Linked DNA regions of Homo sapiens: regions 2, 3, 4 and 5 are each linked to region 1. The links are contacts of gene promoters, found by promoter capture Hi-C in blood cells and fetal thymus (Javierre and others, 2016). All regions are on one chromosome and are shown on one strand. The core of a region is centred on a gene start or on the middle of the fragment in contact, and the rest is flanking DNA. Distances in the headings are between cores, read along the strand shown.

Region 1 (3,957 bases), core at 282-2,781:
GTTCTGAGTCCCAGCTGGGAAGTAGGCGCCATCGTGCCCTCCGATTCCATCCTGGCTCTGCCTATTCCCAGCTGTCTGTGCAGGAAGCCGTTGCAGGCCGCATTTCCCACCCTAGCAGCCCTCTGCTAGGTTCAGCCAATGAAAGCCACAGGTGGGAGTTGGAGGGGAAGTGGCAGGGAGAAGCCGGGGTATTTCTCCTCCTCTGTCTGTGCAGAATCTCTGACAGTGGCTATCTCCAGCTGTGGCCAGACAGGCCTTGTGAGGGTCCAGCTTTGACAAGGTGACCATAGCTCCTTGGCTCCAGTAACATCTGCTCTTCCTGCATCAAGGACCTGGGGACTGTTCCTACTGTTGCTGATCTCAAGGTTACTTCACTGAGCCCTGTATGGCTTCTTAGCCTCTTTGGCTTCAAGTCCCTGCGTTAAATTCCCCGTGTTTCAAATACTCAGAGATGTTTGGCTGTGCGGAGACCCTGACTCTTACACTGCACCTGTTCAGGCCAGAGCCACAGACCTCTGAGTGCTCCAGCCCTGCCGCATCTCATCCACCCCCAGCTCTGCCAGGAGCATGGGCCCAAAGACAGAAACATGATCCCCCAGGACAGTCCAAAGAGACCTGCAGAGGACGGATGTGTGCGTTGGGGCCATGAAGATGGAGTAGGAGCTCACTGGACAGAGAAGATGGGGAAGGACACTCCAGGGAGAAGCAAACGCTGAGGTCCACTTGAGAAAAATGCCTGGGTGGTTTTGGTGCTGTGAGATTCTAGGGTAGGTGAGACAGTGTGTGTGTGTTTGTCTGTGTGGGTGGTTTTGGTGCCATGAGATTCTGGGGTAGGTAAGACAGCGTGTGTGCGTCTGTATGTGTGTGGGGGGGTGGGGCGGGGTTGGGTCTGAATCTCCAGCGGGGGCAGCGGAACAAAGGGCTGGATGCCCATCCCAGGAGGTAGATTCATCAGTGCTCCCTATGCGAGAGTGGAAGTGGGGAGCCCCAGTGGGTCCTGGGCTGCAGGAGAATCCGCTGCCCCAGGAGCAGAGACTGGGAAGAAGCCCACAGTAAGGGCAAAGGGTGGACTGCGGAGACTGCTCCGTCCTCCCTCCCCACCCCTACGCCAGGTTTCACTTCTCCCTGAGAGTCCTGGGGCAACACCCCCTGTTCTTTCCCTCGCACCCCCATTTTTAAAATGTTACGTGGGAGCTTTCGGGGACGGGCTGCGGGCATCCGTTTCCCTAGCCCAGTGGGAGGTGGAACCGAAGCCCAGGAGTCCAGGCCTCTGGCCCTGCGCCTCCCTGGCTAAAGAGCGCCCTGTGGGGAGGAAGCAGGGCCCCAGGCGGAACCGGGAAAACACACCGGGGCTTTAAACAGACCGGGCCACTCCCATCGAATTTGGAAAGCGGTTAAAAGAGGTCGTGCCGCATTCTGCGCCGCGTCCCTCTTCCTTCAGTCCCGCCGAGTGTCCCCGACCAGAGGTGACCTCCTAGAAGGGGAGGTCCCCAAACTCGAGGCCCTGCGTGTAGGGAAGGGGAGCGCCCGCCCCTTCCCTGCCGCCGCGAGCGCCCCGGGAGGGGACCGGGGCTGCCGTCCCTCCGCCTCTTCCCCCGCGGGGCGTAGCGATGGCCCGGGCCAGGGCCGGGGCGCTGCTGGCGCTTTGGGTGCTCGGGGCCGCCGCGCATCCGCAGTGCCTGGACTTCAGGCCGCCCTTCCGGCCGACGCAGCCGCTGCGCCTCTGCGCGCAGTACTCGGACTTCGGCTGCTGCGATGAGGGGCGCGACGCCGAGCTGACCCGCCGCTTCTGGGCCCTGGCGAGCCGCGTGGACGCCGCCGAGTGGGCCGCGTGCGCCGGCTACGCGAGGGACCTGCTGTGCCAGGTGAGCGGGCGCGCGGCCACCGGGCGGGGCGGGGCGCGGGAGGCCGAGTCCTGGAGCAGAGATCGGAACCCCGCGGGGGCGAGGGCCAAGAGTGGGCGGCGGACTCGGGAACTCTAAGCCCCAACAGGGAGTCATTTGGCACGGGGCGGGGAGACCGCGCATCCCAGGACGACTCTTGGCTTTGCCATTCATTAGTTTTGTGACTTGGGCCTTCTCGGGGCCTCAGTTTCCCCTCCTGAAGCAGGAAGGACGGACGGACGGACAGATGATGTCATCATTTCCTCAGAGGTTGGGGGCTCTTCTGCCCCAGTCCCCTGGAGTCGACCCCTCAGCGTCCCACCCCGAGCAGCTGCACCCTTGTCGGGGTACCAAGGTGGAGAGGCATCTGTCCCGGTCAGTGCTCCTTTGTGTTGTCCCCGGGGCAGTGAAAGCAGGGGGCCCTGGCGTGGGCGTGGTCAACGTGTGGCCCGGGTTTGTTGAGGGGGTTGGGGCCACTGTCCCCCACGAGCGTCTCACCCCCATCCTGATGCCCTTGCCACTTCCGCCACCACCTCTGTGGGTGCTGTGCCCTCTCCTGGGGATGGCGCCCTGGCCTGCAGAAGCTCTCTCAAGACTGAGCGACAGCTCTTTGTTGAAGCCCCTGGGCCCCCCATCTTCCCTCTGAGGGTGGAGCCCCTGCTTCTGTGCACACCTGGTGGTGCCACCGCTATTTGTTTTCCTCTTGTGGGAGTCTGAGGCCCCAGGGCCTGACCACACCCAAGTGGGCAAATGTTGCCTGGCTGAATGCAGAAATGGAGCAGGACGGGCAGCCCCAAGGCATTCCTGCCTCAGCATCTGGGCAGTGAGAGGCCTGGGGTGGAGAGGCCCCAGGGGCCAGGGCCGTGTCCCAGCCTTCGGCCAGCAGGGGCAGGTGGTGTGGGGAAGGGCAAGAAGGCTGACTTGGAGTTGGAGTTTGATCCTGGCTCTGTCACTTCCCCAGCTTCGTGACCTGGGCAGGTCACTGCTGCACCTCACAATATCTTTAAAATGAAGCTGAGTATGGTGGCTTATGCCTGTAATCCCAGCACTTTGGGAGGCCAAGGTGGGCAGATCACTTGAGGTCAGGAGTTCGAGACCAGCCTGGCCAACATGGCGAAACTCCATCTCTACAAAAATACAAAAATTAACTGGGCATGTTGGGGAGCTCCTGTAATCCCAGCTACTCGGGAGGCTGAGGCAGGAGAAGCACTTGACTCTGGGAGGCAGAGGTTGCAGTGAGCCAAGATTGAGCCACTGCACCCCAGCCTGGGCAACAGAGCAAGACTCCGTCTCAAAAATATAATATAATATAATATGATATGATATGATATGATATGATATGATATGATATGATATAATATAATATAATATAATATAATATGATATAATATGATACATAAAATAAATAAAATAAAACCTTAACCACCCCCCTGGGTGGCCATGCAGATTAAATGCCACATACTAGGGGCTCGGTAAGTGTTTGCAGTTGGATTTCTCGAGGGCTTCCTTGGCCCTCACTGGCTGCCCAGCCCTGGGAAGGGTCCAGGTGAGGCTTGGAGCCCGAATCAAGGAAGACTCAGAGGCAGGCAGGGACTTGCCCAGTGGTCGCACAGCCCAGCGGTGGTTGAGGTGGGGACATGGACCACACTCGCTGAAGCGAGCTCATATCTTAGGTGGGAAGCAGTAGACTCTGGGAGGATGAGGAGGGGGCCCTGGGGAGCTCCAGAATGCAACAGAGGGTGGGCTGGCCACCTTTAGGTGGGCTCTGCTGGACTCCCATGCTGTACACCTCAAGGGCACGGGAATGGTCTGGCCAAGCGTCTGCCTCCCTCACCAGCCTGGGGGCTCCTCAGGACCAGGTCCTTTGGTCTCCCTACCCCCATCACATAGCAGAGTTCCTGCATCCATGCCACATTTGTCTATTGAGCACTTGCTATGTGCCAGGCTCAGCACGGCAGTGAGGTGGGCAGGTGGATGGAGGAAGGGAAGGGTCAGTCCTGATGCTGTCCCCTGGCAGGTTTCTTGGGAAACTTCCCAGGACAGCCTGGCTTTAAGCAACCAGCAGTTAGCAGGA
Region 2 (3,566 bases), core at 88-2,587, 230 kb after region 1:
TCCTAGTAAATCCTCTTTAATTCATAAGAGCCCTTGGTTCTCAAAAGGAAATGTCTTGTTTTTTATTCTACGTCTGGGACAACAGTAAGATTTTTTTAAAAAGTTTAACATTTTAATGCAAATATGGGAATGACAAATATCTTGGAAGAGTTGTGAAGGATTATATCCACGTCTATATTTGCGAACCAAAATGTCTTTCGATTTTGATGTGTGCGTCCTGCAATTTACTGAAGCTTATCAAAATACTTTTCCACGCTTTTATTAATTGCACTCACATTTATTCTGCTTTATTTCTGTGCCTCTTATATGTAGATTAAACAGATCTGTGAGTCTTCTCAATGCTTGCAAACTGAATAGATCGACACCAAGGTGAGGGGAACTTAGATTTACTTTGTCACCATAGCTGTTCCTTCCATTGTTTCCATCTCTGTTTTAACGTAGTAGCTTCAAGGTCTTGTCCAGTGCCTACCATTCATCAAGTCATCAATCATGTAACTATATTAATCATTGACATTTATTGTTTTTTTAGATGCTCAACTGGTCCTCCAAAACAGTATACTTTGGCGGTTCATAAATTGCAGATGGTGTTAATTAGGGGCCTAATAGAGAGAACACAGGGTTGAAGTCACCAGCCCCACCACTTGCTGTAACCCCAAACAAGTTGCTTCACACTCCTGAATTCGGTTCTTCATCTGTAAAATGAGGATAATGATATTGCTGCAGGGGATTTGTGAGGTTTGAATTAAGTAATACAGTATATGTAAAAGTCCAGAGTATGCCTTAAACGTTAACTGTGGCTGCTGCTGCTGCAGTTTTCATCACTGGCACCCCCGTGAACTCTTCCAGCCACCAGGTTGAGTGTTAATTATTAGAAAATCAGTTAGTGTTTGCTGTAATTGATGAACAGTTGTGGTTTTTCAGCTCTTTAAGGGTGTTTTATACAGTTCTTTAAGTTGCTATGAACTTGCCATGAACTCCCACAAGGACGCCCCAGAAGCTGTGCTCTGGGCTCTTCTTGCGGCTGCAAAATCTCCCAGGGCCCCGGCAGCTGGTTGGGCAAAGTGTGCATCAGAGCCTTGTACTAAAGACTGGGCGGAGAATAATCCTGCTAAGTCAAATTAGCTTGGTGTTTGTCGTCATGGGAACATCTTGAACTTGAAGCACAAAGGCTCCTATAATTTTTAGACTTTAATCCCAAATTTCAGAAATGTAATGCTCTCTTAAAATCTGTAATTTCCTTGTCCCCAAATTGAGCATTCTAAAAACACACATTTTGACCTTAAGGCACACCCTGCAGATTGCAGTTGTAAGATTCTGGCACTGTCCACTCAGGGGTTCCCCAGTTAACAAAAAGACTATGTGGAAAGTGTATTCAGATAATCACCCTGAGAGTGATTTCAAAGCCAGCATACCATGAGGGTTTTTAAAAACCTGCTTGGAGATTACTAACTGAGCCACTGGAAGTTGCAAAGGAAGGAAGAGTGAAAGTTGAGCTAAGGAGGGTGTATAGACAGAGGAGACAGAGAGGGGAAGGAAGGAAGAGAGGAGAGAGTCACTGGCTACCAAGAAGGAGAGTGGCCAGCCCCAGGCAGGAGCTGCCTGGATGGGAGGCTTGTCATTTACTTATGAGGAGGGAGGACGTTGAGCTTCAGTGCAGGCGCAGGGGTCTTGCTGTGTTAAGTTCCTCAGCTCCTGCGTGCTCCTTGTTGAGATCTGGTCCCCGTGCACCCTTCACTGAAGCTGTGCCCACTGGCGCCGCCTGAGACTCCCCACTTCCCAGGGCTCACCCCCTCCTCTGTGCAGCACCAGCACATTTACCTAATCCTGCGCTAGCCTTTGCGCACCACTCCTTCTCTCCTGGTGTCGCTGCTACCTCTGACTCCTGTGGTAGCTTCTCAGCCCACGTCTTTAAACATTAGTTTCCCCAGGGCTCTTCTGTCCTTGGTCACCTCCTCCCTCGGTGATTTCCTCTGCATCCGTGGCTCAGCACCCGCCAGATGGATAGAGTCTGTCCTGAGCTGTCTCGCGTGTTGCAGGCTTGTATTCTCACCCACCCACACCTCCAGCTCCAAGTGTCAAGACTAGAGCCACCCAAGTCTGTGTGTGTTCCCAGAGCCCTGGCCCTAGAACAGCCCCCTGCCTGCCCCTCCCCTCCTCCTTTTTTGCTTACAGAGCAGGTGCTGCATTAAAGCAGTTTGTGTCTCTTCTGGTGACAGGGTCAGTGTGTGATACTTCCATTTATTTCATCCTTTCATTTAATAAATGTGTACCAAACTTTTGTATAGGGCTCTGCAAAGCTACGAAAATGATAAATGAGATAAGATCTCAAGAAATGCGTGGACTAATGATGTAGATTTTTAAGTATGTACAGAGATACCTATACTAGAGTTATGTGCTCTGTCTTAGTGAGTTTGGGTTGCTGTAACAAAGTCCATAGACTGGGAAGCTTATAAACAGCAGAAATATATGTCTCACCATCCTGGAGGCTGGGAGTCCGAGACCAGGGGGGCCAGCATGGTCAGGTTCTGATGAGGGCTGTCTTCCAGGTTGCAGGCGGCCATCTTCTCACATGGTGGAAAAGGGTAAGAGAGCTCTCTGGGCCTCTTCCATAAGGGCACTAATTCCACTCATGAGGGCTTCACCCTGCTGACCTCATCACCTCCCAAAGGCCCCACCCCCTAACACCATCACATTGAGGGTTAGGGTTTCCACACATGAATTTGGGGAATACAAACAGTCCATAGTGTGCTCTAAGAGGGGAACAATCAGCCTCCACTCCATACCTGGGCTCTGGTTTACCCCTCATGCCTACGAATCCCCTGTGTATAGGGGATCCCTTCTCCTAGAGCAGGCTCTTTCCATCTGTGTCATAACAACACATTCAAGCCATTCATTTGATCTTTCCCGGAATTTCGCAGTCTTTGGGAAGACTTCCCCAGGCTGCCTTCCCAGGCCTCTGAGCACTCTAGTCCCTCTTGTCCTATGAATGAAGTTGGCCGCTTAACATGGACACCACCTCCAAACAAAGGCATTGTACACAGGGTGGAACGTTTCTGTCGTTACTCGTGACGTCCTGTTAGCATTTGTCCCACGCCTGCCTTTAGGCCAGATTTCTTCAACCTCAGCACTATCGACGTCTGGGGCCAGGTGCTACTTTGTGGAGTGAGCCATCCCGGGCCATGCAGGATTTCTAGCCGCACCCCGGGTCTCCACCCACTACATGGCAGTAGCAGTCCCTCCCCAGCTGTGGCAACAGAAGGATGTCGCCAGACATTGCCAGATGTCTTGGGGGCACCATCCCCCCGGGTTGCACACCACCATCTGGACCAAGGTTGTCCAACCCATGGGCCCATGGGCCTTGTGTGGCTCAGGACAGCTTTGAATGTGGCCCAACACAGATTTGTCAACTTTCTTAATACTCTATTTTCTTTGCAATTTTTTTTTTGTTTAATTCGTCGGCTATCGTTAGCATTAGTATATTTTATATGTGGCCCAAGACAATTCTTCTTCCAATGTGGCCCAGGGAAACCAAAAGATTGGACATCCCTGGAAAGTGAAGCCTACTC
Region 3 (3,512 bases), core at 567-3,066, 210 kb after region 1:
CAAGGACATCACCTGCTACAGAGCTCTGTCCCTGGTAGATTTCTAGCAAATTTAAGTCATCATTTCATGTCCCTGTGGCTCTTGGGAATGAGATATTAAAAAGCAATATTTGTATTAAATAATGTTGTCATTATCTTCTTAGAAGATAATGGAATTAGACAATTAGACAATGTTGGAAATAAAACGCCTCCTAACAATTTCTGTCCAGCTAGCTGGCGCCCTCATGTCTACATGAACTTGCAAATGGCTCGTCTTTAGCCAGAATCACTCTTCCTCGTGACTAACTGTAGAAAAGAGAATTCGTCTTGGCTGTAAGATGCCTTTGGCTAAAACGTTTTTTGAGATTACAACATTTAGATGTTCCTTTAAAAATACCTTTCATTGGCTGGGCACAGTGGCACACGCCTGTAATCCCAGCACTTTGGAAGGCTGAGGCGGTCAGATCACCTGAGCCCAGGAGTTCAAGACCCATCTAGGCAACATAGTGAGACCTCATCCCTACAAAAAATTTAAAAATTAGCTGGATGTGGTAGCAAGTGCCCGTGGTCCCAGCTACTCAGGAGGCTGAGGTAGGAGGATTGCTTGAGCCTAGGAGGCCAAGGCTGCAGAGAGCACCACTGCACTCCAGCCGGGTGACAGAGCAAGACCCCATCTCAAAACAAAAACAAACAAAAGGAATACCTTTCATTGTTATTTCAATTTAACAAATTATTTCACAGTTAATGTGTATTTTCCTTAGAGTTGGGAGGGAGGACTGTCTAAGGTTGCGTCTTTGAGTTTTTTTTTCTCAAGTACTTGGCTGCATTTCCACACATCTGTGGGAAGAAATCAATTTCTTTGTCATCCCAGATGTTATCACCAGCTTCGTGTGAGATGGCTGGCTACACCTGTTGGGCTGATGTCTGCATTTTGAATAATCATTTTAAGTAATCTTTTTTCCTCCTGAGTTACAAAGTGATTCAGGTATTTTAAATAGAAACCGCATTATTTTAAGTATTCTTGACCTACCAGCTTTCCAAAAATAAATCTGATGACTGCTGTGTCTGAAAGGGTACATTTGAAGGAGCTGTTTTATATAAATCTTCAGACCTCTAAAACTTCCTTATTTTTAGAAAACTACAGGAAGAAAATAACAGGGTGTGCCCAAGAGTTTTGTTTTCTTGATTAAGAATGATTTGAATTTCATAACTGCACAGAAAAATAAATGTTTTCATAGTCATCTGATATTTCTTTATAAACATTCTTTTTCTAACTGTAAGCAAATCAAAGCTTAGTTGCCAGAAGGTCACACCAAGAAGTAAAAAAAAGATTCACAAGAAAGCAGGTGAATGGGCTGCATCCCCTGAGTGGAGGGACCTTGGGCTCTCTACTTTCTGTGCAGCTAATTAGAGCACAGTGGAAACAGGGGCAGGAGGGGCGTGCCCGTGGGAGGGGCATGCCCACGGGAGGGGTGTGCCCGTGGGAGGGGTGTGCCTGCAGCAGCTGCCCTGGCTGTGCTCATCTTTGAGGCAGCTGCCACGTGGGCACTTGGGAACTGGTGCCCACACCTCTGTCTGTCTTTAGAGCTGGCTCTCTGTGGTCATGGTTGGGGTGGGGAGTCTTTTAGGCAAGATGGATTTTAGGCAAATCTCCTTTGGTTTTAAGTGGCCACACAATTATCACTTCATAATATTTTGGCCTGCCATGCTCATATAGACTTGAAGTAGCCTGGACACATGACATTCTTATTTTTATTTCTGAGACAGATTCTTGCTGTGTCACCCAAGCTGGAGTGCAGTGGCGTGATCTTGGTTCTCTGCAACCTCCGCCTCCCGGGTTCAAGCGATTCTCCAGCCTCAGCTTCCCGAGTTGCTGGGACTACAGGCACACGCCACCACACCTGCTAATTTTTTTGTATTTTTAGTAGAGACGGGGTTTCACCATGTTGGCCAGGCCGGTTTTGAACTCCTGACCTTAGGTGATCCGCCTGCCTCGGCCTCCCAAAGTGCTGGGATTACAGGCATGAGCCACCGCATCTGACCTGCATTCTTATTTTTAAATATCAAATGATTTTTTCCCCCACAGTTAGTTTTTTAATGCTTAGGTCTCACTCAGTATGTTGAGGTTTGGGTGTACAGCTTTTGCTGTCTGCCCAATGCTGGGCGTGGCTGTGCCACCAAGAAGCAGGCAGGTACTCACTGGGGGTCCTGCTCAAAGCCAGTGCGGGAAGAGCGCGTGTCTTTCTGCTGCCGTAGCCGCTAGCTAGTTTTTAGACTGCAGTCAACACTCACTGGCCTCAGCAGTACCTGTGGAGCCATAGATAATCATTCTGATTCCTTTCCACAATAATACTCCACTTATTTGAAGAATGTTATCATGACCTCTAAGCTTTGGCTGACTATCATTCTTCATATGCCTTGACTAGTATAACGATGAGAACTGCAGGTTCATGGAAATAATTCACTGACAGCTAAGGTCAAGGCTTCCTGAAATGGGATGAGATTGTGGCCCACTGTAATGTGCTGGGCCTGTGGATAGGTATTCTGTAGAGAGGGAGCTGTCACTTGTTCCCCTGTCCCTGCGGTTGGCCTGCTTGCACCAGTTACCCAGGTCTTCTTTCCCTTGAGGATACTGCTCTGGGTCTTAGGATTTCCTCAGTCTCTGTGAGCTCCCCAGACTCTGCTTTCTCCTTTTCCTTTGATATTTTTTAAAATAGGAAGAACCGGCTACCATATCACACACCTTCACTGTGGTGAACCTCAGCCCATAAAGCTGGCTTGGTTCATGTTGGATTTACTCTTGGATAGAATGACTTGGAATGTTTCCACTTTGCTGAGCTTGGATTACCATGTAGTGGAGAAAAGAGAATCAAATCGTTCACGAAGGGCTGTATTAAAATTCTTGCTAATACGGAAGTGTTTCAGAGTTGTGGTTGGAGTGGGGCAATACTCTGGTAGCAGAATACAGTGAACAGACCCCTTAGATATTGCTGTTGTGACCGTAAATACAGACAAATGATGGATGAGTAAGGGAATTCATTGCAGCACTGTGCGCAACGGAGAAAAACTGGATAGGAAACAATAAGGGAGCAGCAAGCAGTAGGGGCATGGCCAGGAGATGATGGTGCCTCCATATGATTAAATGCTGTGTGGTCTTTAAAAATGTTTGTGTTACTGGTACAAGAGGGAAAATGCTTACGCATTACATTGAGTCAAATGCAGGCTATAAAACTGTATATACTGTATCATTTCAACTAAATAGACAAAATTTATGCAAAGAAGACTGGAATGAAGTACTGTATAGCAAAAGTAATTCACGGGTTTTTTCCTGAGTAATAGGATTATGAATTTTTAAATACTTTTAGTTAGTTTCTAAATGTTCTGTGGTGTGTATTTCTTAATAAGCAGAAGAAATTTGTGTTCTAAAAAATCACTTCTTTCTTTGCATTGAATCTGAGGTCAACAGCAGGGCTCATGGCAAATGTCAGGAGGCCAGGGGTTTACTCACATGTGTTTTCAAGAAGACAGGGAGTA
Region 4 (3,812 bases), core at 101-2,600, 140 kb before region 1:
CACTGCAGTGGGAACCAGAGATCATAGCAGTAGCAGTGATGTATCTCGCAGGACGTTTGTGCAAATTTGAAATACAAGAATGGACCTCCAAACCCATGTATAGGAGATGGTGGGAGCAGTTTGTTCAAGATGTCCCGGTCGACGTTTTGGAAGGTACCAGGCATGCTAAGCGTTCTCGTGAGGGTGTTCCATGTTGAGATGATTCTTCCATGTGTACCCTGAGTCCCAAGAATGGATTTTCCCAGATAGACATATGTGAGCAATATTTCAGAAGCATCATTAATTAAATTATCTAATAGTTTCCACTTTGTCCAAACACATACTTTTGGTAAACTAAAAATACACACCAGTGTTGCACACAACGAAGATGGGGTGAGTTGTAAATGTGATTCATGCTTAGGTCCTCGTAGGGGTATCATAACTGATTCTTTATCCAGGTAAAATTTTATTTAAAATACCAATTTGTGTAAAATGTAATTGTTGGCTATCATTTAGACATCTGCCACCAAATCCTGGATCTTTACTCACAAGGAAAACAACAGATGCCTCATCACACCCCCCATCAGCTGCAACAGCCCCCATCTCTTCAGCCTACACCACAAGTGCCGCAAGTACAGCAGTCACAGCCGTCTCAAAGCTCCGAACCATCCCAGCCCCAGCAGAAGGACCCCCAGCAACCAGCCCAGCAGCAGCAGCCAGCCCAACAGCCCAAGAAACCCTCTCCGCAGCCCAGTTCTCCCCGACAGGTTAAGCGAGCCGTGGTGAGTGGGCTAAAGCAGGCCCTGGGTAGAGCAGGCTTTCCAGGTGGCGGCAACACCTGAGCACTGTTCCCATTTCTAAGCGAGCACAGGGAACACCGGAAGCAGGGGGTGTTCGCCGAAACTCGCAGTCCGACTGCTTGTCGGTGGGGAGCCTGAAAACAAAGGTGCTCCAAGGACAGGCTGCCTCTGAGAACCAGGAGGGGGCTCTCTGCCCGGCTCCAGCCCTGCTGCCTGTTTCATCCCTGCCAGGGTTCTGAAGCCTGTCGGTGTCGTTGCCGTGTCCTAGCAGTGTCGTTGTGCATGCTGCTTCTGTGCAGCTGCCTGACCCCAAACAGTGGACCGTTTCCTGCACCCAAGTGGTCCTGAAACTTAGTGTTTACTCAGAACTCACCATTCAGGAAAGCTAGTCATTCTGTCTTATTTGGTAAATGGAAAGAGGAAGGGAGCAGAAATGATGATCTGGTAGGTGCCGTGGTTTGCCCTGAAAGTTCAGGCTAGAAATAATTTTTGTCCGAGGCTGTTCACAGTGACTGCCGTCGCTGATTCTGGTGGTACCTGGATAATCCATTTTTTTCTCATCATACTCAGGATCCCAGTTAACAATTGTGTATTTTCTTTTGTAACAGGTTGTTTCTCCCAAAGAAGAGAACAAAGCAGCAGGTAATTTCCTGTTCTGATGTTTTTTTAGTTTTATGTGTTTATATGCAAAACTTTAAATTCTTAGCCAACATTGTTTCTTTTCAGATCTAAATTGGCCTTAAATCTTAACTTTAGAGCTCATACAAAACTTTTCCATCAGCATTGTCTTTCTGTTCATCACCTGATCATAGATTCTAAAATTGTGCTCTTACGAAGCTATCAGTACAGAAAACATTACTGGCAATAAAAATGTACTCAGTAACATATATAAAAGTATAATTATGGCTGTAGGAGAACTGTTGCTGCAATTTTATTTTTAGAGACTATTTACCCCCATCACAGCAGCAGGAGTCCTCTCCCAAGCACCAAGCCACAGCAGATGCGGGGGGGCAGTAGGGGGTGGTGTGCTGCCCGGACAGCACCAGCCCGGCCCAGCCCAGCTGCCCTTGCAGGCAAGGCCTCTTTGAAACACACTTGGGTTGAGGTGCTGTCACATGTCTAGAACCCAAAGTTAGTTCATGTCAATATTGGAAATAAACAGAAGGAGTGAGCAAAATTGGAACAATTACAAAACAGAAAGTTAGAAATGTTTTGTCACAGGGTCAGTCCACCTATCATACTGAACTCTTTGAAGGCACAGACCCTATTGACTCATTTGTCTTTCTTTGTTACTTGGTTCTTAGTTCCAGTAGTTCCTGGTTCTTAGAACCATGTTCTCGGTTCTTAGTTCCATTCATTAAACTGCTGTGAAATCTTCCAGTTATGATAGAGCTACTTTTTTTTTTTTTCCAGTATATTTGAGGGAATGATGAGTTCAGTACAGGTGAATTTTTTTTTTTTTTTTGAGACAGAGTTTCACTCTTGTTGCCCAGGCTGGAGTGCAGCGGTGCAATCTTAACTCACCACAACCTCCGCCTCCTGGGTTCAAGCAATTCTCCTGCCTCAGCCTCCCGAGTAGCTGGGATTACAGGCATGCACCACCAGGCCTGGCTAATTTTGTATTTTTAGTAGAGACAGGGTTTCTCCATGTTGGTCAGGCAGGTGTCAAACTCCCGACCTCAGGTGATCTGCTCGCCCCAGCCTCCCAAAGTGCTGCGATTACAGGCATGAGCCACCGTGCCCAGCCTACAGGTGAATTTTTTAATTAGCTTCAAATTGACCGACATTAAATGTTAGACACAAGAACGGGCTACACTCCATGCCACATGAAATGCAATTGAGTTGACGTGCAGGTCTGTCAGAGGCAGGAAACAAACTATATATGACCTTGAAGGAAGAGTTGCATTTGAGCAGCGAGAGCAGAGGGGGAGGATGGAGCAATAAGTTGGAAGTACGCAAGTGAGCAAAGGAATTGAGAATCAGGGGAAATGGAGAGGAGTCTTTCTGGAATGTGATGAATTGAAAGGCAATAGCTTCTGATAGGATCTAAAATGTGGGTTAGGACCAGATCACAGAGTTTACCTGGAGGACTGTGAGTTTGGCAGAGGCAAGGGAAGCCATTGGAGATTTAGCAGGGGAATGGCAGAGTCTAAATTCATTTGAGAAGGAGTCCCCTGGCAGCAGTAAATAGGGCAAGTGGTTAGGAATGGGGAGAATCTTGCTGGCACTCATGGGAAACATGGTGGCCTCAGCATGCTGGCTGCGGGGCAGGAAGGGCAGATCCGGAGGAAGCTTTATAGAGGAACTCAGCTGCACTGTGCCATGCCGAAGGCTACTGGCTGCAGAGGGCTGCAAGCACTCGAAATGTGACTGGGTCAAATTCTGAAGCACTGACAATGCAAAATACACAGAGATTTCCAAGAAAGGAGAACGTAAGACATCTCATTAGTAAAGCTTTATATTGGTTACATGTTGAAATAAAATTTTCGATCTATCGGGTTAAATAAATTTTATCCTTTTTCCTTTTATTTCCAGAGTCTTGCTCTGTTAATGCAGGCTGGAGTGCTCCTTTTTCTTGTTAAAGTGGTTCCTGGCACACTTGTAATCCCAGCACTTTGGGAGGCCAAGGCATGCTTTGAGCCCAGGAGTTCCAGGCCAGACTGGGCCACATAGGGTGACCCCATCACTACACAAAACTTAAAAATCAGCTCGGCGTGGTGGCGCCACACCTATGGTCCCAGCTACTTGGGAGACTCAGGCAGCAAGATCACTTGAGCCTGGTTGGTTGAAGCTGCAGTGAGCCATGATTACATTACTACACTCCAGCCTGGGTGACAGAGCGAGACCCTGTCTCAAAAAATAAAATGGCTCCTGGAAAGTTTAAAATTGTAGATATGTGGCTCTCAGTTATATTGCTGTTGGACAGCCCTGATGTAGACGGCTTTAGCTAACTATTACCAGCTGTGGAAAAAGGCAGGAGGTGGGTCCCTGAGGTGAGAGTAATAGCAGTTATAGGATACAGAGGCAAAAGGT
Region 5 (3,773 bases), core at 80-2,579, 250 kb after region 1:
ACAACCTGTACTTGCTTCCGACGGGAGAGACCGTCTACTTCATCGCATCCGTGGTGGTGTTATACAACGTGGAGGAGCAACTGCAGAGGCATTACGCTGGCCACAACGATGACGTGAAGTGGTAAGTCCTGAAACAGGTCATTCCTGCGACTCAGAAGGCGAAGGTAGGAGGATCGCTTGAGGCCAGGAGTTCCAGACCATCCTGGGCAACAGTGAAACCCTGTCTCTAAAATAAATAAATAAATAAATGTGATTCCTGTTGCACAGGTGGAAATAGCATTAGCAGAACACGGTCAGTATTGGGACATAACTAAAGAGAAGGAAGAGGGTCTGAGGAAATGAGGTCTTTGGGAGAGCTCTTCTGTGTGGTCTCCTTGTGGTCCGCTCACTACTGCGCTCCGTGAGACCCCTCTCATGTTTAATTTTCCAGCCTCACCAACGCATGAGCTTCACGGACCACATTGTCTCAACAAACAGCGCCACCTCTTTGGAGGCCTTCTTAACACATCATGTATTAAAGGCTTCTAATTTGGGTCTTTATTTTTTGATAAACATAAAAATGTGTTGCCTCATGTTTGTGGCTGAGTCGGCTCTTCCCATAATTCATTTATAGCTTTTGGTAGGCATATTACATATCTTGGAAGGATGGATGCGTGAAGAGATGGATTTATATATTTGTATTTGTCCTGGTTCCTTGGTCAATGATAAAAATCCTGTTCACGAAAGATGGTATCTTTCCTATTTATGTACTCAACATGACTTTTTAATAAAGATTGTAGACTAATGTAGTGGTTCTGAGATTGAAATGGTATTTTCCCAGCAGAGGATGCTTTTTCCTTCAGTTTGAAAATTCTTAAGAAGAAATAAGGGAATTAAGATGAAATGAATTAGGTACTAGTTGTCTAACGTCGTGGTGCTCAGAGAATTTGTCATGAGTCTGTAAGAAGTTAGGCATTATATATTTCTTATATTTAAATTTTTGACTAGATTATATTTGAGCAAGGGAAAAGTAAAACTTACCTGCAACATGTAGATGTTTTGTAAATATCCTTTTCTTAGCCTAGCAGTTCATCCTGATCGGATCACGATAGCAACAGGACAAGTTGCGGGCACATCGAAGGATGGAAAAGTGAGTTACGTTACCTTTTCATTGTTTCATAATGAACTGGTAACACAAAGTAATTTTTAGAAAACATTGTGCTGCTGAGTAAGGCTGCTTAGATATAATTATGGTATCTGAAAACTTCTGAACCCCTCACTAGAATTTTTTATTGTAAATTAGAAGACTTATTGTGTGGCAGGGTGCGGTGGCTCACGCCTGTAATCCCAGCACTTTGGGATGCCAAGGCAGGCTGGATCTCTTGAGGTCAGAAGTTTGAGACCAGCCTAGCCAACATAGTGAAACCCGTCTCTACCAAAAATACAAAAATTAGCCAGGCGTGGTGTCACATGACCGTAGTCCCAGCTACTCTGGAGGCTGAAGCAGGAGAATCACTTGAACCCGGGAGGCGGAGGTTGCAGTGAGCCAAGATCATGCCACTGCACTCCATCCTGGGTGACAGAGAGAGACTAAGTCTCAAAAAAAAAAAAAAAAAATACTGACTGTGACCTTAAAAATCCCTGGAGCTCATCTTAATTTCATCAGATTTTTAAATAGCATTGTTCTGAACAAAGAATTCGCTAATTCTTAAAATGTTTATTTATATGATAAGTATTAAAAATATGAAGGTAAACATTTAATAAAGTTAAAATTATAATAATAATTTGAATGTACAACATTTTGCCAAATTTCAGCCACCCTCTGCCCTGTCCTGTGAATGTCGTTTAACAGTCGTGACTTTAACCCGTGAAGTTTGTGTCTGTGTGCAGTCACAAAAGCTACTAGGAGGTTTTTAGCACAGATTTTGCAAGCACTTCAGCAAGACTTTAATTTGCATTTTAAGGCGTTAGAGAGGGAGCTTGTAGCTTTTTTGATATCTACTTTTATATAGCTTGTTATTGCATAATATTTTATCTGAAACTAATTTAAGTACATACATTTTATCAACATGTTTTCATCCAGAAAAAATGAATACTACCATATTTCAGAAAATATTTTAGTAACATTGGATTTTAAATATTAATCTTATGCTATTTTCCATTAATTTTTTTTTTTTTCTTGAGACAGGGTCTCACTCTGTCACCCAGGCTGGAATGCAGTGGCACAATCACGGGTCATTGCCACCTCTGCCCCCACAGGCTCAAGTGATCCTCCCACCTCAGCCTCCTGAGTAGCTGGGAGTACAGGCACACGCCACCTCGCCCGGTTAATTTTTGTATTTTTGGTAGAGACAGCGTTTCACCACATCGCCCAGGCTGGTCTCAAACTTCTGGGCTCAAGCGATCTGCCCACCTCAGCCTCCCAAAGTACTGGGATTACTGGCGTGAACCACTGCGCCTGACCTGCATTAATATTTTATACTTGAAAAGAGTTAACAGAAATAATGGAAATCAGACCACTATTATGTAAATAAATTTACTTAAATTGAATGGGTCTTTCAATTTTTTTTTTTTTAATGTTAAATGGCTTTGAAAAATTCTTTGAAATTAGTGGTAAGCTATTTGTTCCTCCCTCTAGTGGCTTAAAAGTATATTTCAGTTTCTGGCATTGAAATTGAATCGGTACTTTAGAACTAGAGAAAAATATTATAGTTATCTTTCAGTTTACCCATAGAGAAATCCAGAGAGGCCTAGTGAATGCCCGCGGACACCCAGCTGCTTAGAGATTAGACTGAACTAGAACTTGGTTCACCTAACGCCTGCCTAGTGTTTCTACTAGGTCCAAGGCCAGCACCTTTTCTTACTGATAAATCTACTGATTGCTCTATGATGTTTTCTTCTATTAAGGAAGAGAAAAATTAGCGTAAATAACCTAGGAACACAGTTGAGAGGATTTTAAACCAATTATAACAATTCTAAATCTTATTTGTACATAATTGATGCCTGTTTTGCCCAAGAATATTAAGCTCTTTTTTTTTTTTTTTTTTTTTTTTGAGACAGAGTTTTGCTCTTGTTGCCCAGGCTGGAGTGCAGTAGTGCAATCTTGGCTCACTGCAACCTCCACCTCCCGGGTTCAAGCGATTTCCTGCCTCAGCCTCCCAAGTAGCTGGGATTACAGGCATGCACTACCACGCCCGGCTAATTTTTTGTATTTTGTAGAGACAGGGTTTCACCATGTTGGTCAGGCTGGTCTCGAACTCCTGACCTCAGGCGATCCACCTGCCTCAGCCTCCCAAAGTGCTGGGATTACAGGCGTGAGCCACCACACCTGGTCTGTTAAGCTCTTAATATTATTTGGTGGTGACCATCTTATGAATTTAGGCATGGTGACACCTTAGCAACAAAACAGACTTTAAAAGAATAACCCATATGTGAGATTCCATTTTACTTGTCATTTTTCATTTCTAAAATTCAGACACATTTAGATGCACAAATTAAAGTGTCAGTTCCCATGGTACTATTGTCAAAAATTGGCCATTCAAATTCTAAAACTTGGTAGACCTCTCCTTACTGTTAAATTATCAACAAGGCCCTCCACCTCCTGAAGTCATCGGGAATGTTTTATTTACATAAAAAGGCAGACTCCTGAAATGCAGAAAAAGATCTTTTGTTTTGACAAAGTCCGAGTTACTGCCCAAGTAATCTTGTAGCTTCAAGGTAAAGACACATGTGTATCACCATCACAATTGATGGCTCTGTGTTTCTTTTCTGAACAGCAATTGCCCCCACATGTG

Evidence for each region. The method cuts DNA at HindIII sites, captures the fragments that hold promoters and counts their contacts. A CHiCAGO score of 5 or more calls a contact.
Region 2: a fragment that was not itself captured here is called in contact with the fragment with the promoter of HHIPL1 in region 1 in 7 of 17 cell types (endothelial precursors, total CD4 T cells, M2 macrophages and 4 more); the score reaches 8.6 in endothelial precursors.
Region 3: a contact is called between a fragment that was not itself captured here and the fragment with the promoter of HHIPL1 in region 1, in 1 of 17 cell types (endothelial precursors). The highest score is 6.7, in endothelial precursors.
Region 4: a contact is called between a fragment that was not itself captured here and the fragment with the promoter of HHIPL1 in region 1, in 1 of 17 cell types (endothelial precursors). The highest score is 8.4, in endothelial precursors.
Region 5: a fragment that was not itself captured here is called in contact with the fragment with the promoter of HHIPL1 in region 1 in 1 of 17 cell types (endothelial precursors); the score reaches 5.3 in endothelial precursors.

The regions. Positions count from the first base shown.
Region 1 is chr14:99,643,598-99,647,554 of GRCh38, forward strand. It overlaps HHIPL1 (HHIP like 1), which reads left to right and starts at 1,532. Exons shown (of 9, transcript NM_001127258.3): 1 at 1,532-1,865. The coding sequence starts at 1,611. The HindIII fragment of the contact is 13,444 bases long and covers 1-3,957 here.
Region 2 is chr14:99,874,619-99,878,184 of GRCh38, forward strand. The region is part of intron 3 of EML1 (EMAP like 1); the gene reads left to right. Among named protein-coding and RNA genes, the nearest start is that of EML1, 83 kb to the left of the region's middle. RefSeq lists an enhancer at 1,812-2,364. The HindIII fragment of the contact is 2,213 bases long and covers 232-2,444 here.
Region 3 is chr14:99,851,950-99,855,461 of GRCh38, forward strand. All of the region lies in intron 2 of EML1 (EMAP like 1), which reads left to right. Among named protein-coding and RNA genes, the nearest start is that of EML1, 60 kb to the left of the region's middle. The HindIII fragment of the contact is 1,098 bases long and covers 1,268-2,365 here.
Region 4 is chr14:99,502,224-99,506,035 of GRCh38, forward strand. CCNK (cyclin K) reads left to right here. Exons shown (of 11, transcript NM_001099402.2): 7 at 1-153; 8 at 496-761; 9 at 1,388-1,421. It overlaps CCDC85C (coiled-coil domain containing 85C), which reads right to left. Exons shown (of 6, transcript NM_001144995.2): 6 at 1-3,812. Among named protein-coding and RNA genes, the nearest start is that of CCNK, 23 kb to the left of the region's middle. RefSeq lists enhancers at 384-884, 885-1,385. The HindIII fragment of the contact is 3,437 bases long and covers 1-3,069 here.
Region 5 is chr14:99,897,174-99,900,946 of GRCh38, forward strand. EML1 (EMAP like 1) reads left to right here. Exons shown (of 22, transcript NM_004434.3): 7 at 1-121; 8 at 1,060-1,129; 9 at 3,756-3,773. Among named protein-coding and RNA genes, the nearest start is that of EML1, 110 kb to the left of the region's middle. The HindIII fragment of the contact is 7,299 bases long and covers 1-3,773 here.